Regions from separate parts of the Homo sapiens genome. Here region 2 is linked to region 1. Evidence: promoter capture Hi-C in human tissues and cell types (Jung and others, 2019). All regions are on one chromosome and are shown on one strand. Each heading gives the region's core, a stretch centred on a gene start or on the middle of the fragment in contact. The rest is flanking DNA. Distances are from core to core; before and after follow the strand shown.

Region 1 (4,116 bases), core at 530-3,029:
CAACCTCGCCTCCCGGGTTCAAGCTAGTCTCCTGCCTCAGCCTTCCGAGTAGCTGGGATTACAGGCATGCGCCACCACGCCTGGCTAATTTTGTATTTTTAGTAGAGATGGGGTTTCACCATGTTGGTTAGGCTGATCTCGAACTCCCGACCTCAGGTGATCTGCCCGCCTCGGCCTCCCAAAGTGCTGGGATTACAGGCGTCAACCACCGCGCCCGGCTGATCCCAGCACTTTTGAGAGGCGGAAGCAGGTAGATCACTTGAGGTCAGGAGGTCGAGACCAGCCTGGCCAACATGGTGAAACCCCATGTCTACTAAAAATACAAAAATTAGCCGGGCGCGATGGCGGGCACCTGTAATCCCAGCTACTCTGGAGGCTGAGGCAGGAGAATCGCTTGAACCTGGGAGGAGGAGGTTGCAGTGAGCTGAAAAGATCGCGCCACTGCACTCCAGGCTGGGTGTCAGAGTGAGACCCTGTCCCCCCTCCAAAAAAAAATTGTGAGCCCAGGTGTAAATGAAGCCCCCCTCCCCAGCACCCTCCTCTACATACCAAGCTTTTCTCCTAGAAAAGATGCACTGGGAAAAAGCTATCTTGAGTAAAGATCAAAACTGATATAAGCCATCCCTCATATACCAATAATATGCCATCAATAAGCGTGAGACATGTGGATGGCTAGGAGAGAGTCTGGTTTCTTCCTGATGCTGCCCACCCAAAACAGAGACTGCAGTTAGGCTCTGACCACACGAGCGCCTGGCATCTCTAGGCAACCTTTTCCATACCAAGCTTAGTTATTCCGGGCAAAATGCAAAAAAAAAACATAAGTAGGAACCTATCATGAAGTGTCCTGGATATTCTTAAATTAAATTTAACCAGATTCTCAAAACATTTCATAACTAACGTCTGCTTTCTTCATTTAATTCTCCAAACATTATAATTTACATTGGTAGAAGAAAGTCCCACTTTACCTGCGGTGAAAAAGGTCGAAATGTCTATCTAGCATGAGATGAAAAACACTACCAGAGAGCAGGGTAGGATTTCACCTCGGCTATTCTCGCTCTAAGTCCAAAACTCCCACATCCTCTCCGCATCCCTCCACCCCGACAGAGTGGCCACAGGGCGTAGAGCGGAGGCTGATACCGCTCAGAGCAGACCGAAGGGAAAAGACGTCTCCCACCGCGCTCATGCCCAACCGGGCTCTCTGGAAAAGGGTCCCGGGGAGCGCGAGGAAAGAAACGAAGGCCGGAAGGAGGCAGAGCGGTCTAAGCAAATAAAAACCCCGGACTTCCACGGCGGCCGGAGCTGGAGGCCTGTGACAGCGGCTCCTCCTCTCAGAGCTTTCCCGGCTTCAGGAGGAGCTGGGGGGCGCCAGCTTCCCGGTGCCTGCGACGCACAGCCCGGCTGGAGCGAGAGCGCAGGGCAGCGGCCCCTCGGGACGAGCTCGCTCGCCTCCCCCGGAAAGGGAGGCTGTGGCCGAGACGGACGGCGGCCTCCAGCTCGGGCGGGGGAGGGCGGCTCGAGGCCTCCGGACCGGGCGCTGAGGTGGCGCACCGGCGCGGGAATGGCCCCAGCCAGCCCCGCCAGGCGATCGCTGAGTCCGTCACTCGTCTGCCCGCGTCCCCGCTTACCTGCTACCCTCGTTCCTGGCAGCTGCCCCGCCGCCGGCCCCGTCGCGGCAGCAGCCTGGACCGCGGACCCCGCCTTCGTCAGCTCCAAGGGAAGCCCCGCCAGCGACGAGGCGTCCGGCCTGTTCGCCGCGGCCACAGCCGCCGAGCTTCCTCTGAAGCGGCTGCCGCGACGCCGGCGCTGGCCTATCGCGTCACCTCCTCCGCGCCCTTCCGCCTGCGAGGCTGGGCCTGGCACCGCCCGCTTCCGGCGCTCCCGCCCCGCCTCCCGACCCGGGGCCGCCCCGCCCCCGCCCGTCACCGCGTCCTTAGCCCCGGCCTCCCTCAGAACGCGCTGGGATGGGAACCGCGTTCAGGAGCTGCTAAGCGCGTTTGAGACTTCAGCCCCTTCTCCAGCTTTTAACCTAAAAGGGCTAAATCAGACCGCAGCTAGTGTACACCCCTACCCTCCGCTGATCCCGTCACCCCTGCGCCGAAAGCAAAAGACCCATTCCAGCTCTGGACGTTGTGAGGCCTGGCCCAGGCGTCCGCTCTCTGGTTTTCCTATTGATCTTACCCCTGGTATTGTGATTGGCCTCTTTATCTATGTCTTACCCGCCCCAACTGTGAATGCTTTCCAAAATTATAAGCCGATGTCCTGACAGGCAAAAACATAATAATAGCAGATTTATGGCGGAAGATGAGTTCAGTTTTGAACATACTCGATCTGGAAGAATAAAGTGGAGGTGACTGCAATGGAAAACCAACAGTGCGTTGCTGAGAGCCTGTGTAGGCAGTAAGGATATGCATTGATGGTGGAGAAGATAAAAACAATACCGAAGCCAACTGCAGGATGGTTTGCTTTTAATTATCATCATGTGTCAGAAAATTCTAAACAATGTTAATGAAAAAGTACTCCTTTCCAAACAAAAGCTTTGTTTAGTCTTAGTTCTAAGCAATGGCTGCAATTACTGTTGATTTTTTTTTCTTTTTTCTTTTCTTTTTTTTTTTTTTCCAAACAGGGTCTTGCTGTCTCGCCCAAGCCGGAGTGCCGTGGCACACCCTAGGCTCGCTGTAACCTCTGCCTCCTGGGCTCAAGCGATCCTCCCACCTCATCTTCCAGGGTACCTGCGACCACAGGCTCCTGCACCACGCCCGGCTAATTTTTTATTACTATTACTATCATTATTTTTGTAGCGATGACATCTCCCTATGTTGCCCAGGCTGGTCTTGAACCCCTGAGCTCAAGTGATCCTCCCACCTGGGCCTCCCACAGTGCTCGAATTACAGGCGTGAACCACCACACCAGGCCCTCTCACTTCTTTTTAACAGTTTCTCTTTGTCAGTGATTTTTTTTTTTTTTTTAGAGGAGTGTCGCTCTGTCGCCCAGGCTGCAGTGCAGTGGCGCCATCTCGGCTCACTGCAAGCTCTGCCTCCCGGGTTCACGCCATTCTCCTGCCTCAGCCTCCTGAGTAGCTGGGACTACAGGCGTCCACCACCACGCTTGGCTAATTTTTTTTGTATTTCTTTAGTAGAGACCGGGTTTCACCAAGTTAGCCAGGATAATCTCGATCTCCTGACCTCGTGATCTGCCCGCCTCAGCCCCCCAAAGTGCTGGGATTACAGGCGTGAGCCACCGCACCCAGCCTGTTAGTGATTTTTAGCCATTTATTTTGTGCCCTATCTTTGTTTTCTTTGTATTTATCTGTCTTGGATATCATTGAGTTTCTCTGATTTGTGGGTAGATGTCTTGCATCAGTTTTGAGAAATTCTCAATCATTATCTCTTCAGATATGGTTTTTGCTGCATTCTCTATGCCTGTTCTCCGAGACACCAATTACATATGTAAGATTATTATTATTATTATTGAGACAGAGTTTCACTCTTTTTGCTCAAGCTGGAGTGCAGTGGCGCAATCTCGTCTCACTGCAACCTCTGCCTCTGCCTCCCGGGTTCAAGCGATAATCCTGCCTCAGCAGTATTATCTACTGAGGTAGATAATACTATTATAATAGTATTATTATCGAGTAGCCAGAATTACAAGCGCCCACCACCACGCCCGGCTAATTTTTGTATTTTTAGTAGAGATAGGGTTTCACCATGTTGGTCAGGCCGGTCTTCAACTCCTGACCTCCGGTGATCCACCTGCCTCAGCCTCCCAAAGTGCTGGGATTACAGGCATGAGCCACGGCACCCAGCCCATATGTAAGATTATTTGATCTTGTTCACCGTGTCTTTTACACTTTGTGATGTCAATTTTTTTTTCAATTATTCAGTTTGAAGGTTTTCTGTTTTTCAGGTTATTGAGTCTATCTTCTATAATCTCCAATCTGCTGTTAAATCTATACATTGAGTTCTTAATTTTAAATATTAGATTTTCAGGTTTTGTTTTTTTTTGTTGTTGTTGTTTGTTTTTTTTTTTTGAGGCCAAGCTTCGCCCTTGTTGCCCAGGCTGGAGTACAATGGCGCAATCTCGGCTCACTGCAACCTCTGCCTCCCAGGTTCAAGTGATTCT
Region 2 (4,116 bases), core at 1,108-3,607, 180 kb after region 1:
AAGCACATTGTGCATCTTCTTGTCCCTCCCACTGGCTCTGCCATCGTGGGCAGCCATAGTTTGGTATTCAGGAAATGAGGATGTTTATTGCTGCTAAAATTAAAAATTAAAAAACTACTACCATCAGAGGGCAGTATTTGTTTTTTATCAAAAGGTAGCTCTGGCTTGGCACTGGGTATTAGCAATTTTTTCTTTTTCTATTTCTTATCCTTTTTTAAAATTTTATTTTATTTTTATTTATTTATTTATTTTTTGAGATGGTATCTTGCTCTGTTGCCCAGGCTGGAGTGCAGTGGAGCAGTCTCGGCTCACTGCAACCTCCCCCTCCCGGGTTCAAGCGATTCTCCTGCCTCAGCCTCCTGAGTAGTTGGGATTAGAGGAGTGTCAGGCTGGGCTTGAACTCCTGACCACAAGTGAACCGCCCGCCTCGGCCTCCCAGAGTGTTGGGATTACAGGCGTGAGCCACCACGCCTGGCTGCAATTTTTTCTTGTAATTTAAACGTGACTACCTCCACATCTAGAGTGAGCCTTGCTCAGAATTTACACTGTTTTTAAATCATCTTTTAAAAACGCTAGGTTGTCTGTGCCATACATAGACCCATTCTTTAATTATTGATCGAATATGTCTGAAGCACTTCACAGGTGCCAAGCACTGTTCTGGGTAACAGGTATACAGAGAGGAAAAGCCAGGACTTTTCTTTCGTGGAGCTCACATTTCTGTCGGGGAGCAACAGTCAACAAGAAAACGTGTCTTTTTCCAACAAGAAACTATAGGCAAAAAAAAAGAAAAAGAAAAATATCACACGGTCATAAATGCTGTGTAGATAGAGTAGACTGTGTGGGGTTCCTCCTTCACTCAATCCATTCCCTCCCGCAAAACCAAAAAAGGAAGTCAAGGCCGGGCGTGGTGGCTCACGCCTGTAATTCCAGCACTTTGGGAGGCCGAGGCCAGCGGCTCACGAGGTCAGGAGATGGAGACCATCCTGGCTAACACGGTGAAACCCCGTCTCTACTAAAAATACAAAAAATTAACTGGGCATGGTGGAAGTCAAGGAAGAAAAAATATTTCATCCTGATAAAGCCACTGTATCCAAATATCAGGGTCTTACATCCAAGACAACTGCATGAGCAAGCACATTTTATAGCATTATATGCTCAATAAGCTTTATTTTTAAAATCCAGCTTTAACTGTTTTTCATTTTCTTGGTCCATTCCTATGCCTGGCCCCACTTTCTTCAAAAGGTGGATGAGGTGTCACCCTAGGGAGAAGGAACCAGGAGTGAGTTTTTCTTCTGCTCTCGCTCCCGTGGTTCAAGCCTTTCATCCGGTGCTGAGCCTAACTCTTCCCTTAGGACTGCTGGGTGGGGCTTAAATGGCTGTGTGTGTAGAACATCTCCCTGCTCAGTCATCAGCCGAAAAGACCCTCAGAAATCAGGATACATTCATCTTTGTTCCTTTCCCCAGTTTTCTCATTTGTAAAATGGGACGTTAATACCTGTTTCCACTGGGCCAGCGTAAGGAGGAAGTTAGATACCATATGCATAGTACAGCATCTGTCATGGAGTAAGTGTTCAATATGTGAAAGTTTTTTTAAAAAGTCTTTTGCCAGCCGGGCGTGGTGGCTCATGCCTATAATCCCAGCACTATGGGAGGCCGAGGTGGGTGGATCACTAGGTCAGGAGATGGAGACCATCCTGGCCAACATGGTGGAACCCCGTCTCTACTAAAAATACAAAATTAGCCAGGCGTGGTGGTGCACGCCTGCAATCCTGGATACTCGGGAGGCTGAGGCAGGAGAATTGCTTGAACCCAGGAGGCGGAGGTTGCAGTGAGCTGAGACTGCACCACTGCACTCCAGCCTGGGCAACAAGAGCAAAACTCCATCTCAAAAAAAAAAAAAGAAAAGGAAAAGATCTGTATTTTATAATATTTTGAGTGACTGGACTAACACCTACAGGACAAGATATTATGGAGACACAAGTAAAGTCCATGACTTGCATTAAGAAATGCCAACTGCAAGAGCACAGGACAGGAAACAGTTAACCTAAAAACAACGTGAAACAGACAGAGGGCATCCAATTGGCAGCAGTCGCAGTATGAACACTCTGTGGACTGGCTGCCCAGAAAGCTAATGTAAGCCTACGCTACATTAATTGAGGGTTAGTGCTCAGATGGGGGAAAGGTCCTGATCAGATCCTGTCTGGAGCCATGTTTTCTTCCAGGAGCCTCATTTTAAAAGATGTTGACAAACTGGAGTGTGTCCCACAGAGAGTGACCATGTCACATGAGAATCCTTTGCAAGAAGTGATGAGATTTTTGCCTGGAAAAGGCAAAAGTTAAAAGATTGCTCTTAAAGCTCTTTAGTTCTTTACAGATCTTTCACGTAGAAGAATATATTACTACTTCTAGAGGGAAAAACTAGGCACAGTGATTGGAAATTTAGGGAGCAGCTCTCACCTCAAGAAAAGACAGAACTTTCTGGCCAGGCGCGGTGGCTCACGCCTGTAATCTCAGCACTTTGGGAGGCCAAGGAGGGTGGATCACTTGAGGTCAGGAGTTCGAGACTAGCCTGGCCAACATGGTGAAACCCCGTCTCTACTAAAAATCCAAAAATTAGCTGGGCGTGGTTGTGTGCACCTGTAATTCCAGTTACTCGGGAGGCTGAGGCAGGAGAATCACTTGAACCCAGGAGACAGAGGTTGCAGCAAGCCCAGATCACGCCATTGCACACTCTAGCCTGGGGGAAAAGCATAAAACTCCGCCTCAGAAAAAAAAAAAAAAAGAAGAAGAAGAAAAAAGAAAAGACAGAACTCTCTGAAGATCAAAACCGCCAGCAACGGGAAGGGTGACTTTGTGAAGCAGTGACCCCGCTGTCCCTACAGCAGCCCAGCAAGGCACCAGAGAGGTTAACCATTGGCGTTTTTCAAGCTGCCTTCTGTGGAGCAGCATCCTGGGGAGCTAGGGTTGGGGTCGGGTGTAAAAGTGGTCATTGTTCTGAGTGATAAAAAGAATAAGGAGGTGGGAACTGGACTCCTAATTTATCCACAGCAGCTCAATTCTTACATGTTGAAGTTTTTCCCATTTCAGAGTTCTACTTGAGATCTTCATTAAGGGTTCTGCTATGAAAATCAAACCTGCAAACCACCAGAGATGATGGCTTTCTTCGCTATCTCTTTTCTTTTTTGAGATGGAGTCTCGCTCTGTCACCCAGGCTGGAGTGCAATGGCGTGATCTTGGCTTACTGCATCCTCTGCCTCCCGGGTTCAAGCGATTCTCCTGCCTCAGCCTCCCGAGTAGCTGGGATTACAGGTGTGCGCCACCAAGTCTGGCTAATTTTTGTATTTTTAGAAGAGACAGAGTCTCACCACCTTGGCCAGGCTGGTCTTGAACTCCTGACCTCAGGTGATCTGCCCACCTCGGCCTCCCGAAGTGCTGGGATTACAGGTGTGAGCCACCGTGCCCGGCCTCTCCACCGTCTCTGGTGGACACAACACCCCGTCTCTTAGGTGCCTGATTCTCAGACAGGACTCAGGAGCAGAGACCAGATAAATCTCAGATTTGTCTGAGCTTATTTACTTCTGGAGTTTTCTAAATAGCTCTCTCTCTTCCCTGGGGTGGGTTGCTTTTTTTTTTTTTAAGGCAGTTTTTTCAATCTTTTGGGTAGTAGCTCTTGAGTCTGTAAAGCCTGGTAATTTTCTAGAGGTAATTGGCATTAACCATCAAGACTCTCCTCACATGCTCCCTTCCCACTCTGGCACCCTCCTCCCACAGGCCTTCCTCCCGTCCTGCTGCCTCCATCAGTCTCTTCCTCTGGCAGCCAAGGGTTGCCTCTCCAAGTGGTCCCAGGAGAGAAATCCTAGGGCCACGTATCAGTCAGAACACTAGTCCTGGACACCTGTGTTTCTCCTGCCCGCAGGCAGACCCTTCGGGAGACACTTGACCAGCGCAGGCCCTTGGGGGGCAGCTCGCCAGGTAGGACCCCTCCCTGCCAGCTGGGGTTTCCCAGCTCCCCACGCTTGAGTTCTCCTACCTAGAATCTTCTTAGGACTACTTTTAACAGCTGCAGTCCTCTCTGCTTGCTTTACGCCTCCCGAGACTCGTTGTTGCAAAAGTCTT

Evidence for each region. Contacts are between HindIII fragments. The study calls those that stand out against the background at their distance.
Region 2: a fragment that was not itself captured here is called in contact with the fragment with the promoter of SENP5 in region 1 in 1 of the 25 tissues and cell types used here (hippocampus).

The regions. Positions count from the first base shown.
Region 1 is chr3:196,865,583-196,869,698 of GRCh38, reverse strand. SENP5 (SUMO specific peptidase 5) reads right to left here and starts at 1,779. Exons shown (of 10, transcript NM_152699.5): 1 at 1,626-1,779. RefSeq lists an enhancer at 270-771 and a silencer at 1,423-2,002. The HindIII fragment of the contact is 4,194 bases long and covers 1-3,284 here.
Region 2 is chr3:196,690,294-196,694,409 of GRCh38, reverse strand. No RefSeq gene overlaps it. Among named protein-coding and RNA genes, the nearest start is that of CEP19, 20 kb to the left of the region's middle. The HindIII fragment of the contact is 6,798 bases long and covers 1-4,116 here.